Linked DNA regions of Homo sapiens: regions 1, 2 and 4 are each linked to region 3. Evidence: promoter capture Hi-C in 16 types of primary human blood cells and fetal thymus (Javierre and others, 2016). All regions are on one chromosome and are shown on one strand. The core of a region is centred on a gene start or on the middle of the fragment in contact, and the rest is flanking DNA. Distances in the headings are between cores, read along the strand shown. Region 1 overlaps SKAP1 (src kinase associated phosphoprotein 1). Region 2 overlaps SKAP1 (src kinase associated phosphoprotein 1). Region 3 holds the start of HOXB1 (homeobox B1). Region 4 overlaps SKAP1 (src kinase associated phosphoprotein 1).

Region 1 (2,844 bases), core at 93-2,592, 340 kb after region 3:
TATACGGGCTGTTCTGAGAGGTTTAGTTAAGTGTAGTGGTAGGGAGAGATTATGACACTAATGTAATTCTGTTTTGTGCTGATATAATGTAATACACCTTTAGACTTAGCCAAGAGGGCCATTTATTCTCAATAAATCAAAATCATTTTTATTTTTTCATGACGGTGGTGATATCTTTTCTCAGGTAATGAATAAAAAGCTTCTTTTTTTAATTGTATACTTAAATATAAATTGTTTGCCTTAAAATAGCAACTTATACAATTGTTTGCAACTTCTTCCTATTTTTATAACCGTCCTTTAAAGCATATTTTACATACTTTCTATTATGCATTAAGTAGTTCTCTGCAGATCTGTTCGTTTACCAGTAGGTGTGGATCCAGGCATACAAGATTCCTGCCTCATCACCCCATGGCATGGCTAACACTGTTCATCCTCAGGATCACTAGTTCTTGATCAGTAGGACCCTGCGCTGACACTGAAAGAGGAGGTACCTTGCATGCCACTGTGGATTCCCACCTTGGTTATTTGGATTTGTCAGATAGATCATGGAGCTAATGAGATTGAGCTCAGAGCCAACTACATTGAGAACAACTCTGTTATTGAACTCACCACACAGTACCTTGTACACAGAAGACAGTTAGTAGACTAGAGACTGATCTGACCTCATTTCCTAATTTTTTTTCCGTAGACATTCTAAACTGAGCCTATAATCCCATTTTTTCCCACTGCCCATAAGGGGAACCAGGCAAGAGAATTCCTCAATACAGATTCTGTCTAATGAATAAGAAAGCAACATAGACCGGGTGCGGTGGCTCATGCCTGTAATCCCAGCACTTTGGGAGGCCGAGGCGGCTGGATCCCCTGGGGTCAGGAGTTCAAGACCAGCCTGACCAACATGGAGAAACCCCGTCTCTACTAAAAATACAAAAAACTATTCAGGCATGGTGGTGCATGCCTGTAATCCCAGCTACTTGGGAAGCTGGAGCAGGAGAATCGCTTGAACCCGGGAGGTGGAGGTTGCAGTGAGCTGAGATCACACCATTACACTCCAGCCTGGGCGACAAGAGTGAGACTCTGTCTCAAAAAAAAGAAAGAAAGAAAGCAACATAACACATCTTACTGACTATACACAAAAACACACCATATAAAAAGCTGTTTCCAGCTCTATTCCTTTTCAGAATCTTGTTAGTGAATGACCAAGAGAAAAAATTCAGCAGCTCCTTTGGTACCCAATTTTAGCAAACTGAGTTTGACTCTTGGGGAGAGAAGGTGGTGATGGTGCTATCCCTTGTCTCCTAGAATTAGTGACTTAGAGTTACATCTCTGCTGTATTATGTCTTTGTTTCCTTAGTGGTGGCATTCTTGGGTTTCAGTTGGTGGGGAGAGAAAAACCTCATGCTGATAATGTACTGAAAGTAAATGAAATTAAATAAGCGAAGCAGTGCTCATCACTACTTCCTCCCCCCTGGGTAATTCAATTCAAGCTCTCTCTCTGATGGCAACTCACAGGGGCTGTCTCTGTCACCCCGCTGGGGCCTGGAGTCTTAACATCTAAATAAAAGTTTCACTCAGGCATTTTTTATGCTCCTGCCAGCAGGATCAGTGAGCTGGTGTGGGCACATTAATGTAATATTCATACTCACAGACTCTCCCTGCACACGAGGCAATGTCTTCCCATTTTCATAATTATAGATGTTCCATAAAATGGCATTTAAATTTGCATTAAAAAAAGGAGGTTTGAATTCTAATAGAACGTTTAACATGTCTTTTATGATTCAGACTCTTGGCATCTTTGACAAGGAGCTGTGTCTCTAAGTTTAACAAGACCTTTAAAAAGAAAAGAAAAAAAAAACCTGTGGAAAGAAGAGATGGAAACTCCCAGCTTATGGGATCGTGTTTTCCTCATCTCCCTATGTCTTTCATTTAATTTTTAGGCCTCCAGGAGCAATTTTTTTTTTTAAGAGGCAGAGTCTCGCTCTGTCCCCAGGCTGTTGTGAAGTGGTTCAATCACAGCTCACTGCAGCCTTGAACTCCTGGACTCAAGAGATCCTCCTACCTCAGCCTCCAAGTAGCTGGGACTACAGGTTTGTGCCACCACACCTGGCCTCCCCAGGAGCAATTTTTTGACAGCACTTCAGAGAGCCTTCTCTTCTGTAACTGGTCCTCACCCCACTCAATGCCTCACCCTCAGTAGAATCTGCTACTGTTTCCTTGGAGGGTGTTTTCAGAGGGGTAGGAGAAATGAAAGAACCCTAGAAAAATGAACTTTCCTTTGCTGCTGTTCATCTCATGCGTGCACCCTGAGATTGATTAAAAGGATTTATGGCAACCACATAGTTTGCTAACTGTGAAACACACAAATAAAAGTAGTCCATGAACAAGGAGGTTAACAATAAGGACCAATTGGATAAAAAATCAGGCACATAGACACACTTAAAAACAGAAAAAGAGGCTCTTCTGATCTACCTTTTTATAACTAAGCTTGAAACAGCTTTAAAGCAAAATGTAATTTTGATTGCATTTTAAATTGTCGTAGATGTTATTTTAAAACAAAAAGTAGGAAAAGCACTGAGCAAAGTGCCAGCTCATAGCCACCATTGAATAAATGTTATTGTAGGAAATGTTCAAAAAACAATTGTTTGAAAAAAAGTTATTTCAACCATAACTCTCAAGATACTCTATAGGTGGCCCAGTTGATTCATATGTAGTTATGCCTTACTTTGTTTTGTATTTGGTTTGCTTCATAAATTATTTAAGACAATCCAAAAGAGATTTGAGTTCTGGGACTAAAAAGAATAAATGTTAAAATACCGCTAGCCCAATTACCTTCATTTTGCCTAATTA
Region 2 (2,700 bases), core at 32-2,531, 380 kb after region 3:
CCACCCCATTTCATGTTAACAAGCAGGTCAACACTGTGCTGTGATGACGAAGATGATGATGATGGTGTTTTCTCTCATTAATAACCCCTATGGGAGGCAACGGAGTTAGGAGGATGGGAATGGGATTTGGGGTCAGCTGGAAGGCAACGGTCATATACCGGTCAAATTCAGTAGAGGCCATTCCTTTCCCCCAGACAGGAACCAATCGTCTAGAACAAACCCTGGCAGCCTCATTCCTTCCAGGTAATTTTTATAAATGAGGGGACACCCATTCCAAGAGAGGACAAAAGGGAGAGGGTGTTTATGTGTGTGTGCATATGCATGCATGTAAACCTGCTAACAAGAGGCCCAGTTGCTCATCAACCCATCCTGCAAACCCTGACCATTTATTCTAAAACCCATTTTTTAAAAAGAGAATAAAATTGGCATTTTATTTTATTCTATCTATCTATAAATAGTCTAATCTATTTATTCCTAAACAGTTGTCCTGGACAAGACCTTTCACTTTTCTCTCTCTCTGTGTATGTATGTGTGTGTGTGTGTGTGTGTGTGTCCATGTGCACACAGTTTTCAGTTGGGGAAAATTCCAGACCAGATAATTAACTACGAAGCCCAGACAGAAACGTTTACCTAGAACCATATAAGCCACGGCCGGGTTAGGTTAATGCTCAGAATTGCCCGATGCTTTACAAACTCCAGTGTAAAAAATTCCAGCCATTTATTTTGCAGTGAATTTATAACAAATGCTGTTAACGTCTTCGTCTTTTGACAGAGGTAATAATAAATTCACTGTTAAAGATGGTAGTTTAATTCCTTATACCTCCAATACTGCACAGAATAAACCATATTCATCACTGAGTAATTTTTTACCACATAAATCTTTAAAACTAACCGGTGAAGGCTGCGGAAACTGAAATATTGTGAATTTATTAGATATGCCCATGTAGTATTGGATTCAGAGGTTTCCATTTGAATATATTATGGGGAAAATTTGTGTCTTTAACTGTGACATTCCCTCCATTTCCCACCGCCAGTATTATAACAAGCAGCTCCTCCAGAGTCAACTGCACATTTATTAGACAGAGATTTAGTAATAAACTCCCCACTAATCTGCCAAAGAGGCTGGATGACATTTTGGTGAGATGCCCTATTTAAAAGGAGTCACAAAAGCTTTGTTTCAGTATAATTATTTTCTCAAAAGAAACTCAGCCTCCCCAAACCTCTTCTGCCACCATTTCTTGGTATTGCGTGATTCAGCTCTCCAACCAAACTAGCAAAATATTGAAACAAAGTATAACCTCATTGCTAACATACAGGGCAGTAACTTCTATGGAGATTATAGGATTAGTTATGCAAGACTGAAGGTAATTGATTAGAACACAGAAAAGCTTAAATTTGCAGACATTCCCAGATGTATGGTATTTAAGGCTAATAAAAAGATCATATTGATTCTCAAATTAGAAATAATAGAAATGGTTTCAGAAAACTAGTTATTTAAAAACTTTCATCTTGACATATGAAACGTTAAAGATACAGTTAAATCCTCAGATTTGAACAAAAATCCTTTTACTCTACATATTAATTTTGAGTGAAAATCTGTACCTGATAGATGAGAATATTCTGAACCTTTCTCATGATTTGCTAGTGAAGTGACAATGAAACTAACCAAGTATATCAAATTGTAACACCCTCTCCAGTTTCATTAAGGAAACATTAATATTGCTAAAATGAAAAATATTTTTTTCTTTTAAATGCAGAAATGTTCATCATATTTAGCAAAGAGAGTCTGCAGTTTCTCTGTTCCTGATAATATTCTGTATTTGGGGAGAGTTCCAAATACTAAGAACTTACATGGAGCATTGTGAACTTTACCGTTTTTTAATAAAATTGGTTTCTAACTATTAAACAAAGGAGAAGAATCTCCTGGCAGTGCAAGGCTGTAGCCCATCCGAATAATTGTTAAAAGACAGAACCCAGCTAGAAAGATAGGCATAATACCAGCAATTAATATTCAGCATTTCACATTATAGTCAAGAGGATGTGTTTTTCTTTGTGATGTGGCTCATAAGCTAAGAGTGTTGGGAGCCAGACTCTGAACTGTGTCTTCTTTTTGTGGATGAGGATTAAGGAGGAAAAAAACAGCGACGACAATCCTGCTCCATCTGTAAATGAACAAACATCTTGATTTTATAGCTATTTGCTTTGTAAAACTAAGGAATGAAACAAAAATTACTGGATGCCTAAGTAACACTTTAATTCTGAATTCATTTACGCTATAGCTATGTAGTTGTCACAAACCATAATGCAGTATTTAATTAAAATAACAGAAGTGCATCTAGATATGTCCTGGGGTAGCTGTCACCAAATTATACTCTATGCCATCGGTATTTTATTTATGAAATGGCAGATTCTAAGGTGCAACTAGGCTGATACAAAAGCATGAACATTTTAAACTTGCATTTTTAGAAAGGCTCTTTTTTTTTTTTTTTTTCCTGCTGCGTCTTTAAATGTTTTCCTCCTTCTGTCTTTGGAAGGGGAGGGAGGTTAGTGTGATTGTTTAAAGATCTCTCTAAATCTTGCTTTTCAACTGTTGACCTCCTAAGTCTTCTGGCTGTGAAATCCCCGTCTGTTGTCATGGAAAGGCTTGCGAGGTTCACAGGAGCCACAGCAAGTGTGGGACATCTTAGGCAGAACTTGGAC
Region 3 (2,700 bases), core at 139-2,638:
GCTCTACCTAAGGGCTTCTCTTCTAGTCCCATCTGGGTTTGGAGTCTGAGAGAGTGAAGAAGACACATCCTGTGTCCCTCCGCAACAGCCACACAGAACAAAAAGGGGCGAGACTCCACTCCTCACTCTGGAGTCTTAGAATTCAGAGCCTCAGGGCCTCCACCCCGATTCTCCCACTCTCTGACCAAACTCCCTTTATCAATCCTAGAAAAATTACTGAAATCTGGAGGAATCTTTAAGATTTAACTGGTATTAAATTTATGCATTTGAGGTTTGGAAATTTTTTTTTTTTGGAAGGAGATGGAGGGTGGTGAAGGAGAGACAGGTAGGAGGGAACCAGGAGAATGCAGGTCTCCACTAGTTTTAAACACTTCAAGAAGAGAATAAAAAATTCCCCTCCTCTTCACCCCGCTGTAAACATCACCTGGCTGTGCTCATTGTGGCTCTCTAGAGAGATATAGGGAGTTATTTAAGTCTGAGTGAGTGAGCCAGCTACAGCTATGGATGGCTAGAGAGAGGATAAATACATCTAGAGAGATGAGAGGTAGGGAACGAATATAAATATGGAGAAAGATGGACGAACAGAGAGATGGATTGAGACAGAGAGAATATAAAGAGAGGCTGAGGGAGAGAAATGGATGTGTGAATGAGGAGAGAACATTTATGCAAAGAGAGAGAGAGGGAAGATGGGGCATTTCTCATCCTTTTCTCCACATTTCTGTAGTCCTGCCTTGCTCCCTGAAATGCCAATTTCCCACCCCTGGCTTCATGAATTCTTCCTCTAGATTCTAGATCCTGCCCCACACCCTTAGGTGTTTTTGCACCACCTTCCCCCACCTCCCCACCACACAGTCATCCATTTGGCCCAAGATAACATACCTCACCCGGCTGTCCTAGCCCACCACCCTAAGACAAATTGGAAGAAAGGAACATGGTTTGGGAGTTCTGGGCAAAGTATGGAAGCTGGATTCCCCACCTCCAGGTCCACAGACTTAGGGGGAAGGTTTCTCTGAGGGGTGGGAAGAGTGAGGGGCAGCTGGCTTGAATTTGTCCAAATCTAATAACCCAGGAGCCTATTGAAGGCCTTGGGGGTTGGGAGGGAAGGAAAGTCTTGAATATTCTCCTAACTTTTTCCCCCTCTCCCTCTGGTCCCTTCTTTCCAAAAGTCTTTGAAGAAAGATGTTTTTGACGCTTCCATGTCGCTCTCAGATGGATGGGCTGCGGGTGATTGAAGTGTCTTTGTCATGCTAATGCTTGGGGGGTGATGGATGGGCGCTGGGGCTGCCAAACTCTGGCCCGCTTAGCCCATTGGCCTGGGAGAGATCACATGTGCCCCCTCACCCCCACTCCCTACCCCCTTCCTAGGGAAGCGCTTGCCCAGGCGAGCGGGTCAGGCCATGGATTCGAGCCCCAGCGCTGTGACATACTGCCGAAAGGTTGTAGGGCAAGAGGGTGTCTCCCCCAAACGGGCCGACCCTCCTGCGGCCTTGACGCATGGACTATAATAGGATGAACTCCTTCTTAGAGTACCCACTCTGTAACCGGGGACCCAGCGCCTACAGCGCCCACAGCGCCCCAACCTCCTTTCCCCCAAGCTCGGCTCAGGCGGTTGACAGCTATGCAAGCGAGGGCCGCTACGGTGGGGGGCTGTCCAGCCCTGCGTTTCAGCAGAACTCCGGCTATCCCGCCCAGCAGCCGCCTTCGACCCTGGGGGTGCCCTTCCCCAGCTCCGCGCCCTCGGGGTATGCTCCTGCCGCCTGCAGCCCCAGCTACGGGCCTTCTCAGTACTACCCTCTGGGTCAATCAGAAGGAGACGGAGGCTATTTTCATCCCTCGAGCTACGGGGCCCAGCTAGGGGGCTTGTCCGATGGCTACGGAGCAGGTGGAGCCGGTCCGGGGCCATATCCTCCGCAGCATCCCCCTTATGGGAACGAGCAGACCGCGAGCTTTGCACCGGCCTATGCTGATCTCCTCTCCGAGGACAAGGAAACACCCTGCCCTTCAGAACCTAACACCCCCACGGCCCGGACCTTCGACTGGATGAAGGTTAAGAGAAACCCACCCAAGACAGGTAGGGCTCAGATGTGGCCACCCCTTCTCCGGGGCCCAAAGCATCTCTGCTTCCCCTGCAGTGACATGTCCTGGGTCTGGGCTGGGTTCTTCTCTTTCAGCGGCTCTGGTAGACACAGGTAAGAGCACAACCTACGTCTCAGGTCAGGTGAGGTCTCCCCACCCAGTATGTAACCGGTCACCCCAGGAGTAAGTTTCCATACACACCCCACTTCCTGATCTGTGCACCCAGCACAGACCCAGGACCTGGTGTGCATGGGGGATGGAAGTATGGGGAAGGCTGCTCCAGACTTGGTGATCACCATGGGGGTACCTGGTGGTCCCTGGGAACTTTGACAACTGTACTTGGGCAGAATGGCAAATGGAGGTCCAGAGCCAGCCCCGGGAGGAGGGAAGCGGAAGGAGAAAGAGGTGAGAGAATTGACCTGGCCTTTCTCCCTGCCCCGCCCCTAGCGAAGGTGTCAGAGCCAGGCCTGGGCTCGCCCAGTGGCCTCCGCACCAACTTCACCACAAGGCAGCTGACAGAACTGGAAAAGGAGTTCCATTTCAACAAGTACCTGAGCCGGGCCCGGAGGGTGGAGATTGCCGCCACCCTGGAGCTCAATGAAACACAGGTCAAGATTTGGTTCC
Region 4 (2,700 bases), core at 189-2,688, 360 kb after region 3:
AAGCCCACACTGTCTCTATAGGGAAAGCCATGTAAGTGAGACCTTCCTTCCAGAGTATAATTTAGATGGGCTTCCTAATAGGGAGAAAAGTGTATGTAATACATACCAAGTCAATAAAAAATGTTTTTTTGTAATCAAAATAACGCATGGGTCATCACATTAAACTCACTCCATCACATTAATCATGGGATAATTAGCATTTGCTATGTGGCTAGCACTCTTCTCCCCTTGAGGGAAAACCAGAGCCCTCAAGGTTTTCAGCCAGGCCACAAAAACGTTAGTCCTGGAAAATATGGTTTCAAGGTTGGTATCTGGTGGAATTTCTGAACATCCGTGTTGAGCATATGTGGGCCCTTGATTTTTTTAGGATCTCATTTGCAGTAGATTAAACTGCAGGGAACTACCACAAAGAAATGCTAAAGCAATATGTAGAAAATGGAGGCTTTTCTGAGCCCTCTCTCACCACCACCACCACCACCACCGAAGTTATTTTACAGGCCAGCATAGGCCCAGCTCCATGATTCAAGATTCCATAAAAGGACAACTTTTGTCAGGTTTCGCTTTGTCTGAGGTCTCAAGGCTGGGATCCAGCAAGACGTCTGAGACCATTGAAGTGCTGTAACTGGGGCCTTGTAGCAGCTGCAATGGCAACGGAATCTGGCTGTGTTCTCTAGAGAGATTTCAGAAGAGCAAATGGAAAGAGAGATGACGAGCCATCTTTGGGAATTTCTGTGCACATTCCAATGCTGCCCACACTGCCCCAGGGTGTTATTATAAACCTAGAAACCAGATTGCTTTAAAATAAAGCATATAACTGAGTTTTTAAAATTTTGAGTCAAATGGAAACAAGCATTCTGTGGAATTATTTTTCCCCCTGTACAGTTGTTCAGACCCACAGGAAGGGGGAACAGTGAAGATAAGAAGTCTAAGGAAATGAAACAAAATAGAGACCAAAAATACAAAGTTTATGAAGAAAGAGCATCAGGGAAGAGTCAACACCAACATCAGGCCTCCTCTGAACTTCTGGCCTTTTCTCTGTCTTACTCCCATGCCCACTGAGCCCCAGCCACACAGTGCTGCTTGGCCAGCACCAAAACTAGAATCATGTTGTTTCTTCTACCTAGACCATCCCCCTGATCTCAGCCTGTGAAATCATACACATTCTGCTCAAATATGTCTCCTCAGTGACACCTTCCCAGATACTCAACTGGAATTAAGCTTTGTTTTAGCCCTCACCAGTGATTTGTATTCAGGTCTTTCTCCCCAGTTAGTAGATGCTTAGGTATTATTTGTGAAGTTAAATTCAGTGCATTCCAAGTGTTGCAGTTAGCACAAATTGAGTTTAATATCTTATACATCAAGCCCATATCACTGAAATAGGATGCGAATATTTTGAGCTAACAGTTGAGATAACCAAATACACAACAGAGAATTAAATGTGTTATTAGCATCTTGCTTGTATTTTGCATGTTGTCTGATGAGGTGCTATACATCCGTGGATTTATAACATATCTGTGCATGCGGGGGAGCAGTTTATTTCTACTTTTCTGCATGTCCCCTTTGCACCTTGAGTCTATCTGTATTTCTGTTGCATCTGTCACCACAGCACCTTGACATCTGGTTGCACATTTACACAGTTGGCATTTTTTGAAGCTTTTATCACTTTCTTTATTTGGGGAAGTAACTGATTTCCCCTCTTTCTGATTTAGTCATTTTTTTCTAATGTTATTCTTTCTGATATCAGTGTAGCCAATGTCAGAGGAGTGTCAGAGCAGCACTTCAGAAAATAGCCAGGTGTCATGAGAAGCTGCTGGCTCCTCTCTGTCCCTCTGAGGTGGATTCAGTGTCCTATTCCTCTCAGCCTCTCATTAGTGTCCCTGACATTGTGCCAAGAATGTTTATTGAAATCGACTCTCCAGATACTGATGCTCATTTGTGATGCCCCATGGTTCTCTTACATGTTCACACAGTTAACAGAATCTTCTTCAACTGTTTTCCCAATTGAGATGAGATATTTGGGGATCAAGTAGAGCATTTAATGTGATAAGTGGACAGTAATCTTTAGAGGTTAATTTGTTTAAAACCTATGTAAGGTTGGGGTCCCATATGCCCTGTTAGGAGCAAGGACCATTATAATCCATTACTGTTTAAAGTTGAGCTAGCACATAAATTTTAATTCACTCTTAAATGAAGATGTATTTCAGTAGACATAATGCTGAAATGCCTAATAATATTCTTATAAAGAAATTCAACAAGCTCTTTAGCCTAAAAAATATTTTTCAAAATAGTCTCTTAAAATTAAAGTGTCACATTAAAGATTAATAAAAATGAGAACTTTAGCTATTTAACCCACCCCTTCTTGTGAGCAACAAGACTTTTTTTCTGTTGCCATATAATAGTTGTCTTTGACTCTGGGGTTGCAAAGACACCTGTTCAGTTTCATGGAAAGATCTGAGATAACTTGTATGCCTATTTGTATTGTGCCCTCTGAACCTAGGGAGGTGTCTAGGGGTGTAATTTTCACAACCAGCTGTGAATGGTGTTTTCCTTCACTATGTGACAGTGCCCCCTACCCAGTCTTCCAAAGACCCCAGAGGCATAGCGCCAAGCCCATCAATGGGAAGGCTTCTTGATTTGAGCCTACTTTCAGCCACCTGGGAAGGACGGTGTTAGATAAAACAGATGTGGGGATTGGAGCTT

What was found. Contacts are between HindIII fragments. The CHiCAGO score rates a contact against its expected background, and 5 or more counts as called.
Region 1: a fragment that was not itself captured here is called in contact with the fragment with the promoter of HOXB1 in region 3 in 7 of 17 cell types (M1 macrophages, endothelial precursors, M2 macrophages and 4 more); the score reaches 8.8 in M1 macrophages.
Region 2: a contact is called between a fragment that was not itself captured here and the fragment with the promoter of HOXB1 in region 3, in 4 of 17 cell types (endothelial precursors, megakaryocytes, erythroblasts and 1 more). The highest score is 7.1, in endothelial precursors.
Region 4: a fragment that was not itself captured here is called in contact with the fragment with the promoter of HOXB1 in region 3 in 3 of 17 cell types (endothelial precursors, M1 macrophages and megakaryocytes); the score reaches 5.6 in endothelial precursors.

The regions. Positions count from the first base shown.
Region 1 is chr17:48,191,296-48,194,139 of GRCh38, reverse strand. All of the region lies in intron 4 of SKAP1 (src kinase associated phosphoprotein 1), which reads left to right. Among named protein-coding and RNA genes, the nearest start is that of MIR1203, 36 kb to the right of the region's middle. RefSeq lists an enhancer at 1,354-1,971. The HindIII fragment of the contact is 2,282 bases long and covers 202-2,483 here.
Region 2 is chr17:48,150,878-48,153,577 of GRCh38, reverse strand. The region is part of intron 11 of SKAP1 (src kinase associated phosphoprotein 1); the gene reads left to right. LOC124904018 (a long non-coding RNA gene) reads right to left here. Exons shown (of 2, transcript XR_007065827.1): 2 at 702-2,700. Among named protein-coding and RNA genes, the nearest start is that of MIR1203, 4.3 kb to the left of the region's middle. The HindIII fragment of the contact is 218 bases long and covers 1,173-1,390 here.
Region 3 is chr17:48,529,699-48,532,398 of GRCh38, reverse strand. HOXB1 (homeobox B1) reads left to right here and starts at 1,388. Exons shown (of 2, transcript NM_002144.4): 1 at 1,388-2,071; 2 at 2,524-2,700. The coding sequence starts at 1,495. RefSeq lists an enhancer at 918-1,498. The HindIII fragment of the contact is 6,798 bases long and covers 1-2,700 here.
Region 4 is chr17:48,174,230-48,176,929 of GRCh38, reverse strand. The region is part of intron 9 of SKAP1 (src kinase associated phosphoprotein 1); the gene reads left to right. Among named protein-coding and RNA genes, the nearest start is that of MIR1203, 19 kb to the right of the region's middle. The HindIII fragment of the contact is 435 bases long and covers 1,221-1,655 here.